4 separate regions of the Homo sapiens genome follow, and all the other regions are linked to region 2. The links are contacts of gene promoters, found by promoter capture Hi-C in human tissues and cell types (Jung and others, 2019). All regions are on one chromosome and are shown on one strand. The core of a region is centred on a gene start or on the middle of the fragment in contact, and the rest is flanking DNA. Distances in the headings are between cores, read along the strand shown. Region 1 overlaps SLC1A1 (solute carrier family 1 member 1). Region 2 holds the start of PLGRKT (plasminogen receptor with a C-terminal lysine). Region 3 has its middle 20 kb from the start of MIR101-2. Region 4 overlaps SPATA6L (spermatogenesis associated 6 like).

Region 1 (5,935 bases), core at 394-2,893, 890 kb after region 2:
TCGCTTGAACCCAGGAGGTGGAGGTTGCAAGTGAGCTGAGATCGCACCACTGCACTCCAGCCTGGGCAACACAGTGAGACTCTGTCAAAAAAAAAAAAAAAAAAAAAGAAGCGGTGGGCTGTGTCCTGGTTTCAGCAGTCCAGGAGCTGTTTTAACATTTTTTTCATTACTATGGAACACGGTGGTATTTGTAGTTAGGACCAGTTTTTCAGAAGACTCCATGAACTTTTTGACTCCCTGAACTTATTGTCCAGTAAAAGCATTAAATATACCCCAAAGAATCTGAGGAACTCAACTGTTCTTTTCCAAAGTCCATATGAATGCTCTGACAGCAGCAGCTAGCTAATGGCTCAGTGAGACTTTTCTGGGTTTTTGCCACAACCTAAATATGACTGAGCTGTCTCTTTGCTTCTCTTTATCCATAAAATTGGTATCTCGGACTTCTAGGCAAAAGCTTCTTACATGCTGGTGAACTTTACAAACTGATGGCAGAGCAAGTCTTTTTATATTGTTCTCATTTCCAGAATGAATGCATTCAGTGTGTTCATATCTGCGTAGCTCAATTCTGATATTGGCCCTGTAGATTCTGCTGCCAGTTCAGGTACTTTATAGGAACTTCTGAAGGTCTCAGACAAAAAAGAGTAAGTAAAAAAATTGTATGGCATTCTAGATGTTCTATGAAACATTATTATTATCCATATTTTAAAGCTGAGGACAAGTTAAGTAAAATCCAAGGTTTCACAGCTAATCCATGGCAGAACCAGGATTCAAACCCAGGCAGTGTGGCTCCTGTCTGTACTCTTAACCACTGGACTCTCTTGCCCCTCTAGGATGGATACTTATTCAGGTGTCCCTCTGTAGAGAATGGCACAGGTGGGAGTCACTGCTAGAATTGCTTCCCTCGCCTGCAGGCTCAAGTCCAGTCCCCTTGGCAAGGCACACGAGGCCAGTAAACCCTTGTGCTCCCCCTTTCCATCCCATTCCTCTTGCCCACGTTTCCAGCATCGCACTTCAAGTCTCACTGTCCTCCCAAGATGCTATTTTGGGAGGACAAAGATGCTATTTTCTCTTGCCTGGAATACCCACCCTCTTCCTTTCACTTGATTTCTATGCTTCCTTCAAAATGGCTCCTTCCAATGTCCCCTGCACTGACCTCATTCCCAGAAAGTGCTTATCACACAGCATTGTAATGTACTCTTTCTTGCTGAGATAAGACTTAATTTTACACCTTGTGTGTCTAGCAGAGCCTGGCTCATTAAAGATAGAATGAATAAATAAATAAATGAACGAATGGTCTTCCAGGTCCATGCCTCCAATATATAGAAGGTCCTTAGAATCCCTTTTTAAGTAATCAAATCAGGTTATCTTACAGCTGAACAGAGCTATGAACAAGTCTAATACCTGTTTAGTCAGAAAGAAGGCTCATGCATGGTTGATTCTCTGGGCTTCACTGTCTCAGGAAAGACTAAAGCAGGGCATATTTATCTCTTGCCACTATTCATTTTATTACTTGCAAATGGCATGTTCATTATGGGAGCTCTTCCTTATACACTATGTGGTCGTTTTGTCTTTGGAGGCCAGGCATTTCAGAAATCAAATTGATACAATAAGTCCTTTGGCTTCAACAGCTGTATTCTAACTCAACACAAATTTCTTGATAATCTTAGGGAAAGGAGCACTTAAAGTGCATGAAGAGCCCACTGGTTCCAGATGTTGCAAATGAGGCAAGAAGTTCACTCTCAGACTGTACAGTCTTAGGCAACAAACTTGTCTTCCTGCCTGGAGTTTTAAGTTTATAAACCACCTTGAATGGCAATTTTCATAGAAACTAAACTGTATAATGGACCACCAATGTTTCAAGAAAAGAATGCATACTCCTCCCTCGTAGCTAAAATTGACATTAAATGCTCTTAGCCACCTATGTTTATGAACAGTAGCTTACATTTAATAGCAAGTTGTACAACAAAGTGATATGCGTCTTCAAGTCTTGCAATTCTTGCTAACGAGGGACTCCTGGACCTGACTATCAGATGACCTCAGCTCCATGACCATGTGAGTGGTAGGGCCTCACCCTCTTATACCTGGTTTTCTGTTAGTCTGTTTTCATGCAGCTGGAGTTAACAAATGTTAGCTGAATAAAACTGAACCTTGTCTCGGGGAGGCACGTGGCATGGTTCTTTTCATAGGAGGATGTGGGATTGTTTCCAGATACACAGCTGCCTCTGAGTAAATGAATACATAGCCTTTAAAAAAAAGCCTTCCTCAGCCCCAAAGATTTAAGTGTGTCATCTGCTGTAAAGCCTGAGTTTACAAATAAGGTGCTCTAAAACTATCACCAACTGCACTTTATTCTGCTCACCCTCTATTCTTCAGTCTCTTCAGTGCATTCATACTCCTTGCCTGATGTGGTAGTTTATTTTGTTACCTGGATTCAACCTCAACTAGATTGCATCTGGAGTGTCAGAGTCTAGCTGGGCAGGGGTCAGCTCCTGGCTGGCCTCCTGTTTTTGTAAATGAATGTTTCATTGGCACACAGTCACCCTCAATCATTTACATACGGTCTGTGGCTGCTTTCCCATGACAAACAGAGTTGGGTAGTTGGGCAAAATACACAGGACCTGTAAAACCTAGAATATTTACTATTGGGCCCTTCATAGAAAAATCCTTGCTTGAAAGGCAACCAACTCACATATGCATTCTACATCTGGCTGTTGTTTAATAAATACTGAATATACCTAAGGTTTTATAAGGCTTTAAACTTTTTTACTTGGTTAAAAAGTAGGGCAGGTGTGGTGGCTCATTCCTGTAATCACAGCAGTTTGGGAAGCCAAGGTGGGAGGCTCACTTGAGGCCAGGAGTTTGAGACCAGCCCTGGCAATATATCAAGACCCTATCGCGACAAAAGTAAGAATTAGCCAGGCATGGTGGTGTGGGCCACCCGTAGTCCCAGCCACTAGGAAGGCTTAGGTGGAAGGATGGCTTGAGTCCAGGAGTTCAAGACTACAGTGAGCTATACTGGTACCACTGCATTCCAGCTTGGGCCATAGAATGAGACCCTGTCTTCCCACCCTTTCCCAACAAAAAGTAGTAGAAAACCTCTGATCCTATGGTTGAGGTCAAGCCCTAAAAATTTTGAAATCCTAACATGAAAGCTGGAGTAACAATCATCTAAAAGTCTGGAGCATTTTTTGTTTTTTAAATCTTCCAAGGGTAGAGTGTTAAATTTATCTTTGGAGAAGATCCTCAATTGTAAATCCAGTCACCCAACCAGTGTCTGGTGGAAACTGAAAGTCATTGATAAACAAAACGCAAATATTTTCTCCTGACGTCTAGTGTTTAATAATGTGACTTGTCCAGGAAGCAGAATCAGTACTAGGACTCACACTCAGTGGCCTGGGGGAGAGAGGAGGGAAAGGAGGGAGTTTTCTTGGCTTGATATCTGCTTGGCTTGACATCCACTGAGCTGCAAACTGGTGCTGTTTCTTGAGGAGCTGTGTGTGCCCTTGTTTGAGCAGGCGTTTTTAGGAAATCCAGAGCTGCGACATCACAGGAAGGGTTAGGAATGAGCAACTCCTTGCTCTGGAGGAAGAAATGTGCACAGGAACTGGCATGGACTTGGCCCAGCCTGACCTGGACAGACTCCCAGGTTCTACAAGCAGGGTGGTTGCAATAACCCAGCAGGTACTATGGTATGGAGTCTATGGAAGGCTCCTGATGGGGTCCACGAGGAAAGGCTATCCCCCTGTGGCCGTGAGGGGGGTTTTCTCTGAAGTGGATATTCCACAATGGCAAGCATCCCAGGAAGAGGTCACTCCAGGTCAGGACAGGATGGCCTGTGTGATAGCGGAATTTTTCCTTCTTAGAACTTGGTGTCAGGTTCTGGGATCTGGGGTGCAGGAAAGCTTGGAACACCTTTAGAGATGAACTCTAGCCTCCTGGAGGCAAGCAGCTAAGCAGAGGGGCATCCCTGTTAAGAGGCCCTGGGAGCCCCTTCAGGGAGCAGTTGGATGTCACCATTGGTGTTTCATCTGCTTTTGGTTACCTTTAGCAAAGATTATGTCCTGAGTAGAAGTGTGGTCTCAGCTGCACTTTGGAGAATTAAGCTTCTGCTCCTGTCTTAGGATGGAGGAGCAAAGAGCGGAACTCCTTAGGTCACCGGGGTAGTGGCAGCCACAGCAGACACCAGGAGGCGCAGCTGTGCCCACTGGAGTGCTTCTGGCCCAGGCGGGGGTGGCAGAGGCTAAAGTGGAAGAGCTGCAACCTCTTCCTGAGCAAAGTTATGAGCATCCGGGAAGGATGCTCAGGGGACCTCTGGGAGCGGGACTGGAGGTGCTGTTCTGTCCCTGTGTTGGTCATAGGAGGCTCCAATCATCATAGTTTAATTTTGGGAAGTAGTAAAGAAAATGTGACCTGAATTTAAACTCACTGGCTGGACCAGGATTTTTCCAGAGCCACAATTCTCAGGCATATTCATAAGCTATTTCCTGTTATTTCTCTGGTGCTTTGACATAAATACGGCTTACAAGCCTAAATGTTAGCAGATCCCAAACACAGATATTCCTCAGCAGGGCGGGAGCATGTTCTTCACAATGTAATTTATCGGTAGGATTCTATTGGTACCCACAATGATTGTCTCTGAAAATGTCTTGAGTTTATATCAACTGTGCCATTTTTTTTTTCTGTTTTAAAGTAAATTTGAGACATTATGTCATTTCATAACTCCATATGCATTTAAAAAGTAAGGACATTTTCTTATACAACTATATGCCATCATCATCTCTAACAAAATCATTAACAAATTATTGATACCATCTAACAGCCAGTCTATGTTCAAATTTCCCTGGTAAATTTGGCTTCTTAACCTTATCATCACATAAAAAGGGGTTCTTCCTGTTTTTTAAAAAAGCTATAAAGTATTTTTTTAATCTCACCAGAGGCTTTGATGGCAGAATTTTTTTTTCTACCTGTTAATTTGGCAAGAGAGTTTCCTTTATGCAGGAGCACAGATTATTAATCTTGGGTCTGAATTCTAGCTGTGTTTCTGCTTCTAATTTACGTATCCTTAGGGGACTCATTCAACCCTCCTCAGCTTCCCACCTGCATCCTCCTTCGGCCTAATAACTGTATACGTTAAGCTACCAGCCTGCTGGATTCATGAGGGCATTTGCAATGTGAAATGGCCCTTCCTGTGTGTTTTCCACGGCCATCTTCTGGGTAGGGAGGCTGAAGACTACTTCAGGGTCTGGAGGAAGGAGCTGTGTACCAGGTAAAGGTGGCACTGAGCCGGCAGGGGAAGGGAGCAGAGATGAGGCAGAGAAGCGACCAGAGGCAAAATTGGAGGATCTCAGGCCAGACTCCATCCCCATCTCTTTCATTAAAAATACAAACCAAACAAAAACACAGGTTCAGTTGAAAATGTAAAGAAAGCAGAACAGATCATGTTTTCTTACTTTCTGGATGTTAACCTTTTGGTTTTGATCACAACTTTTAAAAATGTATATACATTTTAATAAAATTTGGATTGTATACACTATCCTGTTGTGTAATTTTATTTTCCCACTTTATACTGTATTGGGAATGTTCCCACATGTAATTAAATATGATTCTAAGACAAGTTTTTAATAGTTGCTTAGTATGAAAATTTGTATACTATGTATACATAGTATAAAAGATAAATTTGTATACATATGTATACAATATAAATTTGTATACATTTAGGTTGCTTATAATTTATCACCATTACAAAAAAATGCTACCATGAATATCCTTGTACTTAGGAGTTTGAACATATCTCTGATTATTTCTTTATGATCAATTCTGAGAAACAGAATTACTGGGTGAAGAGATCAGAACATGCTCCAAACTGTTCTCCAGAAAGTTTGTTCCAATTTATTAGGTAACTGAAAGTGTATGAATGAACTTATTTTCCTATAAC
Region 2 (5,832 bases), core at 1,112-3,611:
GGGGATGTCAGTTCAGGCACATTCTCACCCAGAAACTAAATTGTAATATTTATCTCCACCACTACTCTTTATGCAGGGTAATAGGAAAAGAGAGTCAGGGAAGAAGTAATTAACATTTTAAATGGAGAGCTACTATAATTCCTGCCTCTAGAGCTTGTTGCAAGGCTAAAATTAATAATCATAGCTTCCTACTCATTTACTTATGTATGTTTCCCCTGCCCTATGCCAACACCTAGGTAGATCAGGATTTTTTTATCTGGTATGCTTCAACACTTTAATTTCTTCATGATCTGAAATTTCTGCATTACTTCAGTTATCTGATAATCATTATTATGGCACACGGCAGTATTAAGAAGTGCCCAGTGAATCTCCAGGTGTCATGCATAGTTCTTCTTGCCCTCAATATATAGATGTAACCCAATTTCCTTTTGGTATTTGGGATGAATCATACCATTCTGTCACTGTGAGGAATCAAAGTGACCAGAGGGCAGTTTCAGCTTTCGAATCAATGAATTGAAATTCAATTCAATTCAGTGACGGGGTCTTCTAGTGGCAGCATTCCTTCCTTTGGATCTAGGCTTCCAAACACAATAAACCCAAGGTTGTAGAAATGGTGTGCTGGAATACTATGCAGCCATAAAAAATGATGAGTTCATGTCCTTTGTAGGGACGTGGATGAAGCTGGAAACCATCATTCTCAGCAAACTATCGCAAGGACAAAAAACCAAACACCGCATGTTCTCACTCATAGGTGGGAATTGAACAATGAGAACACTTGGACACAGGAAGGGGGACATCACACACCGGGGCCTGTTGTGGGGTGGGGGGAGGGGGGAGGGATAGCATTAGGAGATACACCTAATGTAAATGACAACTTAATGGGTGCAACACACCAACACGGCACATGTATACATAGGTAACAAACCTGCACGTTGTGCACATGTACCCTAGAGCTTAAAGTGTAAAAACAAACAAAAAAAAGAAATGGTGTGCTGGATATTTTCTATTTCTCCCTCCAGGCATTGTGCCTAGTAGGCTGACCTCTACAGACTACACAGACCTAGCTCCACTGTCTTCTGGCTTCCTGGTGGATCCAGCCAGCGGAAGACCCCAGCTGGATATCAGAGCTGGGAGAACAGAGAGGTGGGTCTTCTCCACTCTGTCCCTGCTTTGGGCTGACGTCTCAGCACTGGCTACAACTATAGAATCTCACCTTACTTGGTGAAAAGTTGGCATTGCTTGCTTTCCTCTACTGAACGACACGGTTCCAGTTGGTTACTCTCTCGTACAGCCACAGCTACCGCTCTCGCTCTCGCCTGGTTTTAGTAACTGCTTCCTTCCCCCACCCCTCAGCCCTATAGTTACTAACAGCTCCCCGCTGTTACTGGTTACTACTGGTTACGGAAGGCGAACTATGTGCCCGACACTGTGCTAAATGCCCACATATATTATCTTTTAGTCCTCACAATCCAATAAATTAGATGGCTTTAGTCCTGTTGCAGAGGTGATAAATTCAGAGTGACAGTGACAGAGCTAGAAATTGAAGGTAGGTGTGTTTATGCTAGAGTCTGTGCACTCAAACACGATTCCTTACTTCTTGCATCAGTTGTTAACCTCCCTTCAAGAGTGTCAAACCTCCTGGTAACCCGCCCATTCCCTTAACTGGAAATGAGGGTGCTGTTGCAATTTTCTCATCCAGCCATTCCACAAATGGTATCTGGAATGTGGGACCCACAGTCCAGAATCCTGAGGGCTGCTGTTGAGAGCATCAAGACGCGCCCAGGAGGTCAGGGCGGTGTGCACTCACACGCTGAGCCTGGAGAAAGTTAGACGCCTTCTCCACCGCTGTGGTGGTTAGCAGGGACTTTCCTGAAGGCCAGAGACTGGTGACGTTCATGCTATTTTTCCAAGCCATTTGGTAGCAAAGAACAGAGTGCCAACAATTCAAGCATTCTCTCAGGCTGGGAGAGAGACGTGGCTTATTCAAGATAGAAATTGCTGGTGAGGTTGAGGCGAGACCGACATCTCTCTGAGCAGCAGGGGAGAAAGACGGCTCTGTTCAAAAAAGAATGGGTAATTTCAGTCAATTCTCTTCTTTCTCGTTTCTGTCTTATCTTTATGACTTTTTAATAGTGCCAATTTAACAGATGAGGGGACAGAGGCCTTTAATTGAGAATTCCACTCCGCTTCCTCTGCCTCATCTCAAAAATCTGGCAGCTGAGTCGCCGCGGCTTTGAATTTGCCTCTTTTGACCTTCCCCTCCCACCTCTGGTAACACTGAGCCTGGCCCGGAAGGACACACCCGGCTTCTGGCGGAAGTGCCGGCTCTTTAAAGAAGCTGAGGGCTGCGCGAATTGGCTGAGGTGCGTCATCTACTGTGTCTGGGCGCCAATCCCGACGCTGGGCGGAGCGAGGCCCGGTCCCTGCAGCGGGCGAAAGGAGCCCGGGCCTGGAGGTTTGCGTACCGGTCGCCTGGTCCCGGCACCAGCGCCGCCCAGTGAGTGAACACCGGCCGCAGGCGGGTGGGGAGAAGGGTCAGCCCGGCCATGTCAGTCAGCGCGATCTCCTGGGCTCCGGGCTTGCCAGGCAGCGCTGGGCGCCCGCTCCTCGTGAGCGCCGGCTCTTGGCTCTCGCACTGCCCCTGGTGCTGATAGGTATTGCCAACTTCGTTCCATTAGAGCGCGTTCTTGTCGCCTGGCGTGGACTCCGGATCTCTCCGTAGCTTTAAAATAGAGTTGAGAAAAACAGGCACAGTGCTCTCAACAGAAATCAGCACACTATTGCGGGGAATACCTAAATTACAGTAACTGGCCTCAGGGAGCAAGGGCGGTGTTAATTACAGAAAACCTCCGGAAGCTGTGGGCTCTGGGCTGGAATTTGCAAGGGGATGTGGCTTAATTTCAATGGGATGCAAATATTGAAAATGACTGTGGTGAGACGATCAGTCATACATTCAGGCAATGTGTCATCTGATCGGGAAATAAGTCAGCGTGGTAATCCCGATGACAGAATTCATGCAATTAATTTTTTATGTCCCCCCAAGTAAAATCAAATCTAGGTACTCACGGGTGACCGGAAGAAAGGTTGTCTGGAACTTGCAGGCACCACTTCTCCTCCCCAGAAATACACCTTCCCATAGTAATCTATAGCTCACCTGAGGCAGGGCTGAAGCATTAAAGACCCCTTCCAAGATCTCAGAAGGAATCAAAGGGAAAATGAAGACAGAGGGATTGAAATCAGCATTCTCTGCAAAACATCACTCTGAGACACAGTGATGTTTAAAATTGTATAAGTAGCAAGACATTTTTTTTTACCCCTGGTGAAAAGTGTTAGAATTTTTAAAAGACTTAACTTATACAAGTGAGTGAAATCAAAGTTATCCCTATTGCAAGGTCAATTTTGCTTATTTTCTGATACATATTTTGTGAGCAAGAGGAGATAGCTGAAAGTGTTCTGGACACCCTACGGAATATTCCCAGACTTTGGGAAATGACTTTGCCAGGAATGGGGAAGTTGGGAAAGGAAAGAATGTTGAAAATACTGAACTCCAGGGTGAAATTTACAAGGTGTGATGCATTTATTTATTCTCAGGTGTGGTTTCCCATAAGGAAGCTCTTCTTCCTGCTTGGCTTCCACCTTTAACCCTTCCACCTGGGAGCGTCCTCTAACACATTCAGACTACAAGTCCAGACCCAGGAGAGCAAGGCCCAGAAAGAGGTAAATCTAAATACTAACTTCCCAGACAGTGTTTCTTTCCCAGATGATTGACATGAGGACTCTCTCTTTTCAGGGGAGATCCTAACCCCTTACAAACAGGAGCACTTGAAAGCACACAGCTCTGTGATATACAGGGTATGTGGAGGAATAGTACTAGAGTACAGTTGTTTTCTTTATAAATGTTTGCAGCAGGTGTAAAAATTTAGTCATCCACTCCTATGTTCAGAAGAAAAATAAGTAATGGCAAGTGGCCTGAGCCACAGTTTTTCTTGTATCTCTCATGCTTTGTGCAAATATTTAGGGGAAGTAGACACCATGGAGACTATCAAGATGGATAATATCTCGCTCCTAACCTCAGGCAGGTTCTGGTCTGCTGTTAGAGATGAGTCGCATGGGACTGTTAGGGTTTGGAGAAAGGAAAGAACTGCCAAATCACCCTGCTGTCAGTGAGTGGCCTCTAACTCTGGTCACAGGGTGCTCGAGTGGCACAGTGGCAGAAGGGGAGGGAAATCTCACCACCTCAGGCCTTTTCAGCATTGTGCCTCTTCATCCTGGTAAGTGGTTTGGTATCCTGTGCTCAGCTTTGAAGCTGACTCTGGCACAGAGCCCTGAAACTCCAGGTGTATCCTTGATCAGAATACAAGGAAGTCACTGAAGTCTTGCTTGCAGCTCCCACTCACCTGGAACCCCATTAGCTGGGCTTCCCACAGAATACTTGGGAATCCTGGCTGTAATGAATTAAGACTGGCCATTCTTACCTGAGGTTCACAACCCTACTCAACAGCCTATTAAAGAGAAAAGGTATCAGCAACATTGTTGAGAAGGGTAGAGCAGTTGTAACTTTCCCCTGAGTTTTGCAGTATTCTGAAATGCAACCAACTAACTCAAGGTCTTCTGTACCCACCCAGTTGGATTAAGAATAAAAATTGGAGTTCTGTCCCTTGTAGAGTTGACAGCCCACTTAAAAACTTACATAAGATAGACACTACTGTGCATTCATCTAAAAAGTACATTTTCCAGGACATTCAAGTATCTGTATGTTTTTCCATTTTTGAGAACTTTAGTACATGCTATCTTGGAGAGAATGAGAGTGAAGCTGGAGGAGGATGGCTAAGGCAGTTAGCAGTGGGTGGATGGAAATAAGGGGCATGTAGGAGAGGGACAGGGATTGTGGTGGGATGACAGGAAGAATAACTGGTCTACTGACCTTGAGACAGCTCAATCTTCTTCTTTTTTTTTTTTTTTTTAGTATTTATTGATCATTCTTGGGTGTTTCTTAGAGAGGGGGATGTGGCAGGGTCATAGGATAATAGTGGAGAGAAGGTCAGCAGATAAACACAAGAACAAAGGTCTCTGGTTTTCCTAGGCAGAGGTCCCTGCGGCCTTTGGCCCTGTTTGTGTCCCTGGGTACTTGAGATTAGGGAGTGGTGGTGACTCTTAACGAGCATGCTGTCTTCAAGCATCTGTTTAACAAAGCACATCTTGCACCACCCTTAATCCATTTAACCCTGAGTTGACACAGCACATGTTTCAGAGAGCAGGGGGTTGGGGGTAAGGTTATAGATTAACAGCATCCCAAGGCAGAAGAATTTTTCTTAGTACAGAACAAAATGGAGTCTCCTATGTCTACTTCTTTCTACACAGACACAGTAACAATCTGATCTCTCTTTCTTTTCCCCACATTTCCCCCTTTTCTTTTCGACAAAACCGCCATCGTCATCATGGCCCGTTCTCGATGGTCGCTGTCTCTTCGGAGCTGTTGGGTACACTTCCCAGATGGGGCGGCCAGGCAGAGGCACACCTCACTTCCCAGACAGGGCGGCCGGGCAGAGGCGCTCCTCACTTCCCAGACGGAGCGGCCAGGCAGAGGCACACCTCACTTCCCAGACGGGGTGGCGGCCGGGCAGCGGTGCTCCTCACATCCCAGATGATGGGTGGCCAGGCAGAGGCGCTCCCCACCTCCCAGAGGGGGCGGCCAGGCAGAGGCGCCCACTTCCCAGACGGGGCGGCTGGGCAGAGGCGCTCCCCACCTCCCAGACAAAGAGCAGCCGGGCAGAGGTGCCCCTCACTTCCCAGGCGGGGCAGCCGGGCAGAGACACCCCTCACCTCCCAGAC
Region 3 (5,263 bases), core at 427-2,926, 570 kb after region 2:
GGTGACATCATTCAAGCCCCTGGACCCAGTTTATACCTGAAGTGAGGTACATCCCTGGACTTTTCCTTTAAATGAGTCAATACATTTGCTTAAGCCTGTTTTGAGTTGTTTTTAGTCACTTACATTCAAGAAAAAAAGTCCTAATATGATTTCTAAGGGGAATGCTTGAGTAACAAAAGATAATCAATTTATCCACGGTTAGCTGCTGGGCTTTGGTCTTTCTGAGGAAAACATGAAAAATTGGGTGCTGCCTCCACATCTCCCTTTTCTACCCTTCTTTCACAGCTGTTCATCTTCTCATCTCTAAACAGATATTGAGCAAACATTTAAATAATGCCCATTTGAAAGGGCACTAAGGTATGACCTAATAAAGACACTCATATGTCATGGTTCAGAGCTACTGAAACCCAAAGTGTTGTGTTCTTGCTGCAATTTCTCCACTAATTGTGTGATCTTAAGTAAGTTTGATAGTTTCTCTAAGCCTAAACTGAGAAGTATCTGTGAGGATGAAATGGGACAATGTTCATGGAAGTGTTCTGAAATCCATAAGGCAGTGGCAATTGTGAGTCAAGAAAAATAGGAGCTCTTGCCACATTGGAAGTCAGCTGCTTTGTGGAGGAAACATCCTGAGGGAAGGAGGCAGCACTTTATATCAAAGCAGGGAGGCTCAGCTTGGACGTTTTAGTATCAGGAGATCAGTGATGCTAAATGGAAATTCAGCCCTCTGAGTGATGAGCCCTCTTCTCTCTTCTAACCCTACCCTCCAAAGCAGGCAAACAGTCAAGGTTTGTGGCAAGAAGTTCAAACTTTCCAGAACCTTTCAGAATAATTACATAACCAAGATAGGCAACTAACCAGAGATGACTACTGCGGGGCAAGCAATTTTACAATATAACACTTTTCAAGAAAGCACAAGGACCTCTTTTCAGCATCTAAAATTTTCACAGACTTCTTTCTGTATAGAATAGAATAGAATAGAATAGAATAGAATAGAATAGAATAGAATAGAATAGAATAGAATAGAATAGAATAGAAGAGTAGAATAGAACAATAGAATCTGTTGATTGAGAAAATACAGGCCAGGCATGGTAGCTCATTCCTGTAATCCTATCACCTTGGGAAGCAGAAGAGGGAGGACTGCTTGAGGTGAGGCATTCAAGACCAGCCTGGGAAGCATAGCGAGATCCCGTCTCTACAAAAAATTGAAAAATTAGCCAGGTATGGTGGCACATGCCTATAGTCCTAGCTACTCGGGAGGCTGAGGCAGGAGGATCGCCTGAGCCCAGGAATCCAAGTATGCAGTGAGCAGCGATCATGCCACTGCACTCCAGCCTGGGCAGCAGAGTGCAACCCTGTCTCAAACAAACAAAAAGTACACAATGAAATAAGTATGAATTCAATACTGCTTTAAAATGCATTTGTATATTATCCATAATAACAATGGTTCTTAAAATTTGGGAAGATAGTCTCACAAGATGTACAAAGCATATTATGTGCTAAGCATTCAAACAGTCCTCTTGGGGCATGCAGATCCCCGGCAAACAGATCAGACAAGTAGGACAGTCCTCGACGGACTGGAGCAGCTAACCCACTCCTGTTCTCCCTACAGCACCCCTTACTTTGCCAAAGCTGTTTTCTTAGCATTGTTAACAAAGGTACTCAGAGCACACTACTTCCAACTGAGGTTGTTATCCACTTCCTTTCTCACTCTTCTTCTCAGGTGGGTGTCCAGGTGATTCAAGGTCTCTTTCACCTTCTGCACTCCCAAAGACAAAACTCAGGACTACAAATAGAACTCACTCAGATTGTCAAGAGGTGCAAAAGTTTATCCTGGGCACACAGGTTCAACAGATTTTAAAAGCACTGACATTAACTCTACATCTTGAAGAAGACACTCAGAGAGTATAAGCCAAGCTCTTTTCTGGAGAGCCCATTAACAGAGAAGCAGGTCAAGCAGGGGCTTAAGTACAAGAGTATCTTTTCAAAAGCCAACTTAAAAAGCTCAAGCTCTCTCCCCATTCTGAGCAACAAGGTCCATTGCTTCAAGGACCATGTCTTTGCATCTCAGTGATAGCAGGTGGTGTCCTGGCCTGAATCCTCTAAAAATCTAGGTGTTTCAAGGTTCAGGCTTGGCCTTAGAGTAACCATAGGACTTCAAGAAACCTTTCATGTCTCCTTGGTTCCTCCTCCCCAAGGATTTCTCCCTGACCTCTTCCAACTTCTTGCTGAGAACCTAAAGTGAGCTTTCCTGGTATATTGAGCCTCTGAGCTAAGAGGAAAAGAACAACAGTCTGTGTAACTCTCAAGAAAATGAGGACATTGTAATAATCATATAAACACCACAAAATCCAACCCTATCCACATACCTGGCCCCTCTAATTTCTAGAAGCCCAGACAATAAGGGAAGATGGCAGAGAGTCAGTTGGGCTGATGGCCACTGATCCGAAGCTCATGTGCGGGGGTGTTCAATGCTGTAGGGCTGGGGCCAGGGTTAGACATGAGTCTGGATTTTCCACCTAGATTCTTGACAACCACTTGGCTTCTCACAAATACCCCAATCAAGAATGCAAGAGCTGGCTGGGCGCCGTGGCTTACACCTGTAATTTCAGCACTTTGAGAGGCCGAGGCAGGAGGATCACTTGAGCTCAGGCGTTTGAGACCAGCCTGGGCAACAGAGCAAGACCTCATCTCTACAAAAGATTTTTAAAAACTAGCCAGGTGTGGTGGTACACACCTGTGGTCCCAGCTACTACTCAGGAGGCTGAGGTGGGAAGATCTCTTAAGCCTAGGAGAGGTTGACGCTGCAGTGAGCTATGGTCGCGCCGCTGTACCCCAGCCTGACAGAGAAAGACTGTGTCTCAGAAAAAAAAAAAAAAAAAAAGAATGCAAGAGCTTATATTTTCTGTATTCATCAATAAATCCTATCAGACCAGGAACACCCAAAGTGTGATCTGCAGAATAAGAGCACTACATAATGCAAACAATCTCTTTCTCTCTCTCTCTTTTTCCAGGGTAGGGAGAGTTCCATGGTTAGGTGAGTTTGAACAGTGCAGGTAAAACAAAGCTTCACTTGCAAGGCTTCTTGTAGTGTTTGCTCTGTTAATGTACACTGTGATGGAGACTGCTGCATTTTCAAAACCTCTATAAGCCCTTTTCAGGGAAAGCACCCCATGATGCTAGTGTATCATGGAACCTCCTCTGGGAAGCACTACACTGGCCCTAAAGAGACCCTAATTTGGAGGCTGAGCACAGTGCTCTGACTCAGAAGCCTGGAGCCAGCCCTGGAAAATGGGTAATGTGCAAGGGCCTAAGCCACTTGCCCAGCATTGCAGCAGGTCACCTGAGGCATCTTTTGTGGCCTCTTCTGAGGCCTCTGCCACAGGTAAATTGCATATGTAGTTTTTGGTTGTTGTTGATTTTTGAGGGTGCAGAGGAGTGAGACAAAGAGGATTCCTAATCTTTTTTCTTGAGACGGAGTCTCACTGTTGCCTAGGCCGGAGTGCAGTGGCACGATCTCAGCTCACTGTAACCTCTCCACCTCCCAGGTTCAAGTGGCTCTCCTGCTTCAGCCTCCTGAGTACCTGGGATTACAGGCACCCGCCACCACGCCTGGCTGACTTTTGTCTTTTTAGTAGAGACAGGGTTTCACTATATTGGCCAGGCTAGTCTTGAACTCCTGACCTCAAGTGATCCACTTGCCTTGGCCTCCCAAAGTGCTAGGATTACAGGCATGAGCCACCACACCTAGCCAGGATTCCCAATCTTTATTTGCCTTGAGGCTGATGGAAAATTGCTGGAGTTCTACCTGGGATTCTTAATATAAACTAACATATATACATATACAAATATATATGTGTGTACATATAACTGTAAAAAATAGTGCGGGCTGGGCACAGTGGCTCATGCCTGTAATCTCAGCACTTTGGGAGGCAGAGGAGGGTGGATCACAAGATCAGGAGTTCAAGACCAGCCTGGCCTATATGGTGAAACCCCGACTCTACTAAAAATACAAAACATTAGCCAGGTGTGGTGGCGGGCACCTGTAATCCCAGCTACTCAGGAGGCTGAAGCAGAGAATTGCTGGAACCCAGGAGGCAGAGGTTGCAGTAAGCCGAGATCATGCCACTGCACTCCAGCCTGGGTGAGTGAGACTCCATCTCCAAAAAAAAAAAATAGTGCAAATCATTTGAAAATGAGAAGCACCTCTCACACTCCCGCCCACTGGAGGAGTCATAGGTTTGATATGTCTTCATTGCTCTTCCGCCGGCAGCTCTTGACATTGTTGCCATCAATTCATGATCTTGGCAATGGGCAAAAAATCCTGGTCTTCCTCCCCAGCTCCTGAATCTGTTTTCCAGAGGTTAGAAAAAGCAGAACCATGCAGTGGCTCACACCTGTAATACCAGCAATTTGGGAGGCTGAAAGGCAGGCAGATCACCTGAGGTTAGGAGTTCGAGACCAGCCTGGCCAACATGATGGAACCCCATCTCTACTAAAAATACAAAAATTAGCCAGGCGTCATGGTGGGCACCTATAATCCCAGCTACTCGGGAGGCTGAGGCAGGAGAATCACTTGAACCTGGGAGGCAGAGTTTGCACTGAGCCAAGATCATGTCACTGCACTCCAGCCTGGGCAACATGTCTACACAGTGAACTCACTGAGATGCCTGTAGGGCCTCTTTAACTCTTGTATCATATGTCATGGGACAGTTTGACCTCAACCCACCTGCAGGTGCTATAGCTTGTCTCTGGTGAAACTCTGTCTTAGGACAAAAAAAAAAAAAAAAAAAAAGGAAAAAAGAAAAGGCAGGACCATGATAGAGAACAAGAACATCAACTGACATTTTTCTTTACGCTGTGCCCCGGCCCCTCCTCTTGGCCCACAACACCCATGCTGCTCCCACACATGGAATTGGTCATTGCCACTTTTCCTCCCTCTGGGTTACCACCCAGAGTACTGCTCCCCCTTCTAGCCCAAGAATGCCACTGGCTAATATAACAAATCTTTGCCAAGCATCCAAGATAACTTTGGCCTTCTGAGTCCAATGATCTTGCCTTTGTTGGGCATCATTTGTTAAGGTGAATTCATCCTTGTTTACTCGATTCTATACCATAATGCTGGAGGATTCTGGATGGTGAAAGATGGTGGTGGGCAGGCAGTATTGTGGGGCATCTTTCTGAGAATATTCAAGGAATTAGGCAATGTAGTCTACAGTGGACAACTGCTCCTTCTGCCTATCCCGTATCAATTGTCTCTTCTATA
Region 4 (5,804 bases), core at 1,580-4,079, 820 kb after region 2:
GTACCCCTGGGGGAGATCCCTGGACCACACATTGAGAGTCACTGGGTTAAGGAACCCCTTGTAGGCTTTTGACTGAAATCCATGAATCATGCCAGTAGTGAAGGTCATGTCGGTGAAGATCAGTCATTCCTGAACTTAATCAAAATTCTTAGGCTGGAAAGGAATGGTGGTGGTCCATTCTCTTGCCTGCTGGTAGTACTGGACTTTCTATCTGTTGCCATCCCTGACAATAGAGATCTTTATCTTAGGCTTAAAGGTTTACATTTTAAGGGACTACTTTTAAGTCTCTTATGGAAACTTAAGCCAGTGTTCTTAGACTGTGGTAGCTGTTTGACAGCAGCTGCAAGGACAGAGTAGAGTTTGAAGCAGAATGTGCTTCATCACCTCTGACATTTAATTTAAGTTCTTTGAGTTGAAAATCACCTGTGTAGCTTATAAAGCAGCATTGTCTTTCCTACTGCAGTGAAATCAGGCAACAGCAAATGTCCTTTCCTGGGGAGGACAAGTTGGGTTTAATGCAGGCTCTATTACGATGGGACTCACACATCACACTGGTCTCGGCCTTTGTCTTTTCTTAATCCTGGCATGTGGAGAACTAAGGTTCCAGAGAGATTACAATGTGTGTAAAGGTCACACACCAAGTTTTTGGCATACCTACATTTAGAGAAGACATTCAGACCTCTGGGCTCAGATCCTTGGAATCCCTGTAGCTTTCAAGCCAGCCCTTTGCTTAGGTCACCTGTCAGCTCATTCATCCAGGCCTAAGGTAGAACACAGCAGTGCTTCTCAAACCTGAATGTGCAGTTGAATCACCTGGGGCTCTTGTTAAACTGCAGATTCTGATTCAGTAGGGCTGGGGTGGAGCTTAGGATTCTCCTTTTCTAACAAGCTTCCAGGTGATATGAATGCTGCTGGTCTATGGACTGCACTTTGAGAAGCAAGGGAATGATGGCAGGCCCCCGTGTGAAAGGTAGGGCTCAAAACCGGTAGGAAGGAGTTTATGAAGCCACAGGAGGAAGGAGGTTATGAGGCCACAGGGTTATGAGGCCACAGGAGGAAGGAGGTTATGAGACCACATGTTATGAATCCACAGGGGAAGGAGGTTATGAGAAGGAGGTTATGAGGCCACAGGGCAGGTTTGTGGCTATAGCTGAAAGGGCCTTAGCATTGCTGACTCCTGCCCAGCTGGGGGTGGGAGAGAAGAGAGCTCCTGGGACAAGGTGGCACACACATATGTATATGCCCAAAGGATATGAAAATGGCCTGGCTTTAAAAATCTCTTTTTATATCTACCGGTGACGTGGGGAGGGGGATCAGCAGTCCAGAAAAAGTCCCTTGTCATTGCCTGAGCCCTGGTCACACTGGGGGAAGCCATGCTGACCTTAGAATTGCCTTACAAATATTCATTTTAAAAACATTTTTTAATCAACCTGGAAAAATCCAACCTAGTCTTCACTTTCTCTCTGTGTCTTTATTACCTCATTTCCTAGTCATCCTTGCCATACTTCGGCATTAGGTCTGCTTGCCTATCATGATCATTTATGGTCATGATAGTGATTTCCATTTTTGCTATGTTCTATATTTCTCCAAGCTTTTACATATTTGTTGTCTCAATTTAACATTTGTGTCTACCTTGGACAAATATATTCAAGAGCTCCTGCATAAATGGGATTCCATGAAAACCAAAGAAAATGTCAGAGGAGACAGAGTTTATAAATTTTATATTAGACACACAGTACTTTCTTTTAGGTTCTGGGCGCCTGCTCAAATATGAGTTTTTCAGGCTGCTTAAGGGTTATTGAACTTACTCATTCACTTTAGACTTGCTTTACCCTTCTCCCTTCCACATGTGCTGTCATTGAAAACAAAACGTCCAGAGGCTTACACCTGTAATCCCAGGACTTTGGGAGGCTGAGGCGGGTGGGTCACCTGAGGTCAGGAGTTCGAGACCAGCCTTGCCAACGTAGTGAAACCCCATTTCTACTAAAAATACAAAAAATTGGCCGGGCATGGTGGCGGGCATCTGTAATCCCAGCTACTCGGGAGGCTGAGGCAGAGAATCTCTTGAACCTGGGAGGCGGAGATTGCAGTGAGCCGAGATTGTGCCATTGCACTCCAGCCTGGGCGACAGTGTGAGACTCCATCTCAAAAAAAAAAAAAAAAAAAAGAGAAAACCTGACTGTTGACCTCAAAAAGACAAAAACAAAAAACAAAACAAAGCAAAAAACCCCCACAACCCGGAGAATTGAAGTGGCTCAAGGGAGACTTAAAAGTGATAGTGTAACTTACAAGGGAGCATTTAAGTTTTTAAATAATTAATTCATTGTCTAAAATTTTTGTACTGCTGTAGAATAAATATAATGGCAGTTTTAAGGCTAAATGGTAATAATGAGTCATTGAAATGCCTGTTCCTCTTTCTTCTAGCTTCTTCTCTTGACAGCCTTGCAGCTAACGTAAAGGTAATTTTAGAAGTAGAATTTGTAAAATGATTTACTTCCAGATATCTTATGTCAATTATTGTGCTTTTTCCAATCAGTGGTGGATATTTCTAGTTAGTCTGCTTAGGTGGAATTGCTGTAGTTTAGTGTTTGTATGAAGATGTGCCCAGACTCCATGTTATACTTTGCTTAGGGGTTAGTTGGTTTGTGCCCCTCATATAAGTAGGATGAATCACCAAGGAGGGTGTATGTAGACCCAATACCTACTTTATTGGTAGTGATTTTCATTGCTTTTTCTCTAATCAAATAATTTTATACATAGAGGTGGTAAATCACTTGTTCTTGAAGTTTGATTGGTTTGTCAAAGTGAAGGCTCAAACTTCTATGTAACAACATGAGAATAGATTTATGCAAAGAAAATGGAATATACTATGCTTCTTATGCCATAGCGCTTAAATATTTTGTTAAAGTTACATTTTTCCCAGACCAATAATCCCTAGTCCTCAGAAATCAAAGTTCAGAGCATGAGTTTATTTTGGTTTTTTAATATATCCCAAACATACAGACTTTTGGTTATTTTTATCAGTCTGAACTCCTGAGCATTTTGTCACTAGTCTTCTCTTCTCCAGATCCTCTTCTATTTGCAGGAGATCCCTGGGGCAAATATTCTGTCATCTTAGCCCGAGTTATCTTCCTTGTCCAACCCCCACCCCCAGCTCTAAATTAAGCAAACAGAAGCAAAATTACAACTAAATAATGCATATTGTCACTCAGGTTATCAAAGAGCCAGATGAACGGATTGTTTTAAGGAGTGACTCATCATCATGTTTAGATTCAAGTCAGTTTGGAAAGTCTTCATCCAGTAAACAAGGGGATGCTGATTTCCACGGGAAAGCTTCATTTGCCACCTACCAGCATTCCACCTCTCCTGGCCCCTTGGATCAGCCCCTTCTCAGAGAAAGGTCAGTGGCAAGCACCCATCTGTTTGCCTGACGAGTGCATTGTGGCCTGGCAGGGGTAAAGCTGGGTCATTTCACCAGCTTCCTTTCTTAGGAATATTCAGCTGGTGACACCTTGATATGAAAAAATGATTATTTCTTTTAAAATCTACCCAAAAGTCAGAGGCATATCTCAGAATATTTGCTGTAAATGGGATAGACAACTAACTTTGACATAGGTACTATTTATCTACCCATTTTTATTTGTCATAAATTTAAAAACTAAACCTTTTCATTTTACCAGTATAAAAATGTTCACCACAGAAAGTTTGAAAATTACAGAAAAAAAAGTGGAAAAAAATTACCTATAGTCCTACCACTCAAAGACAAATGTTAACATATGGGCATATATTCTTTTTCTAGACATGATTTCTTTGCTTACATTATTTTCACAAACAATGAAAATACATTTGCATATGTCTGGAGAGCAGGCCAGAGAGCAAAAGCAGAAACCTTTATTTGCCAAACAGCACTCTCTAGTAGGGTAAGTAACCACTGGTTTGCTTGGGTCTGCCTGATTTTAGACCTGAAAGTCCTGCATTCTGGGAAACCCTTGAATCTTAGGCAAACCAGGACAGTTGGTTACTTTAACTTCGGGGAAGTGGCACTGAAAATAATATTTATAAGATCATTGTTCTGAATGAAGGATAAGCCAATCTGCTTTTCTCTGCATTATTAGTGACGAGAATAAGAAGCAAACTCCACGTACCAAAATAACGCAATTGCTCTCAAAGGGACTCAGAGTAAATATATCCCAGAACCACAGTGGCCCTGAAATTTTTACAGGAATTATATTAACTTTGAGGTAGACTAAGAAAGTGGCAATCCCTTCTTAGTGTTTTTCAGAAATGACATAATAACTCTATATTCAAATGTTAAATCATGGATTTGAGGAAGCCAGATCAAATATTTTAATAAAATCCATTAACGTATGACGAGCTTTTGATTAGTTACTTTATTAGAAGAAAATAATACAACATAGATTTTTAAAAAACTGGCTCCGGCTGGGCACGGTGGCTCATGCCTATAATCCCAGCAGTTTGGGAGGCCAAGGTGGGTGGATCACCTGAGGTCTGGAGTTTGAGACCAGCCTGACCAACATGGAGAAACCCTGTCTCTACTAAAAATACAAAATTAGCCGGGCATAGTGGCGCATGCCTGTAATCCCAGCTACTCGGGAGGCTGAGGCAGGAGAATTGCTTGAACCCGGGAGGCGGAGGTTGGGGTGAGCTGAGATCGTGCCATTGCATTCCAGCCTGGGCAACAAGAGCGCAATTCCGTTTAAAACAAACAAACAAACAAAAAACTGGCTCTGGCACACAGAGACAAGTGGTCAGAGACACACTTACACCTCTCTATGCCTGGCCTCTGTCCCCTCCTGTCTTATGCTTTTGCCACCAGCCTGGAATTCAGCAGGCTGGCAAAGCACAGGAGGTCATCCTGGATTTAAAGACTTGTAGAGGATTGATTTTAAATGAAGAACGGAAAGAACTTTCAATTAACAGTGGTCAGGAGACATGGGCTCTAGCGCTCATGTGTCTCTAAGTGCTGGGTGATTTCACACAGCTACTCCACCTATTTTTTTAAATTAATTATTATTATTTTTTTTCGAGATGGGGTCTTGCTTTGTCACCCAGGCTGGAGTGCAGTGGCACAATCACAGCTTACTGCAGCCTTGACCTCCCCAACCCAAGCAATCCTCCTGCCTCAGCCTCCTGAGTAACTGGGACTGCAGGTGCGCACCGGCATGCCCGGCTAATTTTCATATTTTTATTTTTGTAAAGATGGGGTCTCACTGTGTTGCCCAGGCTCTTCTCAAACTCCTGGGCTCAAGCAATTGTCTTGGCCTCCCAAAGTGCTGGGTACAGGCATGAGCCACCGTGCCTGGCTTCAACCTTTTAAACCTCAGTTTCCTCATCTTTAAAATGGGTTTGATGATCAAAGATCCATCTGCATACAGCCACAAAGTGCTTCTCAGCCACCAGAACTGGGGAAAACCCGTGGTTTTTGTCTCTGTGCCTGGTATCTATAACACCTCCCAAACTCCTTAAAAGCAGTACAGCAAGCTTTTCTGAGAGACTGTATTGAGCATGCTGTTATTGGGCAACTGTTGGGGGCAATGGACACCATCATGACATGTCTCTGCTTTCCACTGGCTCACATACTAGACAGGAAGGCAGACATACCCCCTTGTCACTGAATATGAGATAGATTGTGGTAGGTACCTAACAGAAGTACAATCCAAATGCAGGGGAGAGACAGAGTGAGAGGAAATCAGTTACATCAGGAGAGAGACCTGAGAAGTCCTCTTTTCTCTTTAAATATGTGTTAGATGGTTTATGCATTCATTCAGCCAGCCTTTCCTGAG

The links. Contacts are between HindIII fragments. The study calls those that stand out against the background at their distance.
Region 1: a contact is called between a fragment that was not itself captured here and the fragment with the promoter of PLGRKT in region 2, in 2 of the 25 tissues and cell types used here (lymphoblastoid cells and stomach).
Region 3: a fragment that was not itself captured here is called in contact with the fragment with the promoter of PLGRKT in region 2 in 1 of the 25 tissues and cell types used here (lymphoblastoid cells).
Region 4: a fragment that was not itself captured here is called in contact with the fragment with the promoter of PLGRKT in region 2 in 1 of the 25 tissues and cell types used here (lymphoblastoid cells).

Annotation. Positions count from the first base shown.
Region 1 is chr9:4,547,537-4,553,471 of GRCh38, reverse strand. The region is part of intron 2 of SLC1A1 (solute carrier family 1 member 1); the gene reads right to left. Among named protein-coding and RNA genes, the nearest start is that of SLC1A1, 60 kb to the right of the region's middle. The HindIII fragment of the contact is 4,720 bases long and covers 1-4,003 here.
Region 2 is chr9:5,434,454-5,440,285 of GRCh38, reverse strand. It overlaps PLGRKT (plasminogen receptor with a C-terminal lysine), which reads left to right and starts at 2,361. Exons shown (of 6, transcript NM_018465.4): 1 at 2,361-2,497; 2 at 3,592-3,717. RefSeq lists enhancers at 995-1,154, 2,715-2,804, 1,860-3,059. The HindIII fragment of the contact is 22,053 bases long and covers 1-5,832 here.
Region 3 is chr9:4,867,715-4,872,977 of GRCh38, reverse strand. No RefSeq gene overlaps it. Among named protein-coding and RNA genes, the nearest start is that of MIR101-2, 20 kb to the right of the region's middle. The HindIII fragment of the contact is 7,452 bases long and covers 1-5,263 here.
Region 4 is chr9:4,615,519-4,621,322 of GRCh38, reverse strand. It overlaps SPATA6L (spermatogenesis associated 6 like), which reads left to right. Exons shown (of 12, transcript NM_001353486.2): 8 at 2,425-2,459; 9 at 3,213-3,400. Among named protein-coding and RNA genes, the nearest start is that of PLPP6, 44 kb to the left of the region's middle. The HindIII fragment of the contact is 3,178 bases long and covers 1,241-4,418 here.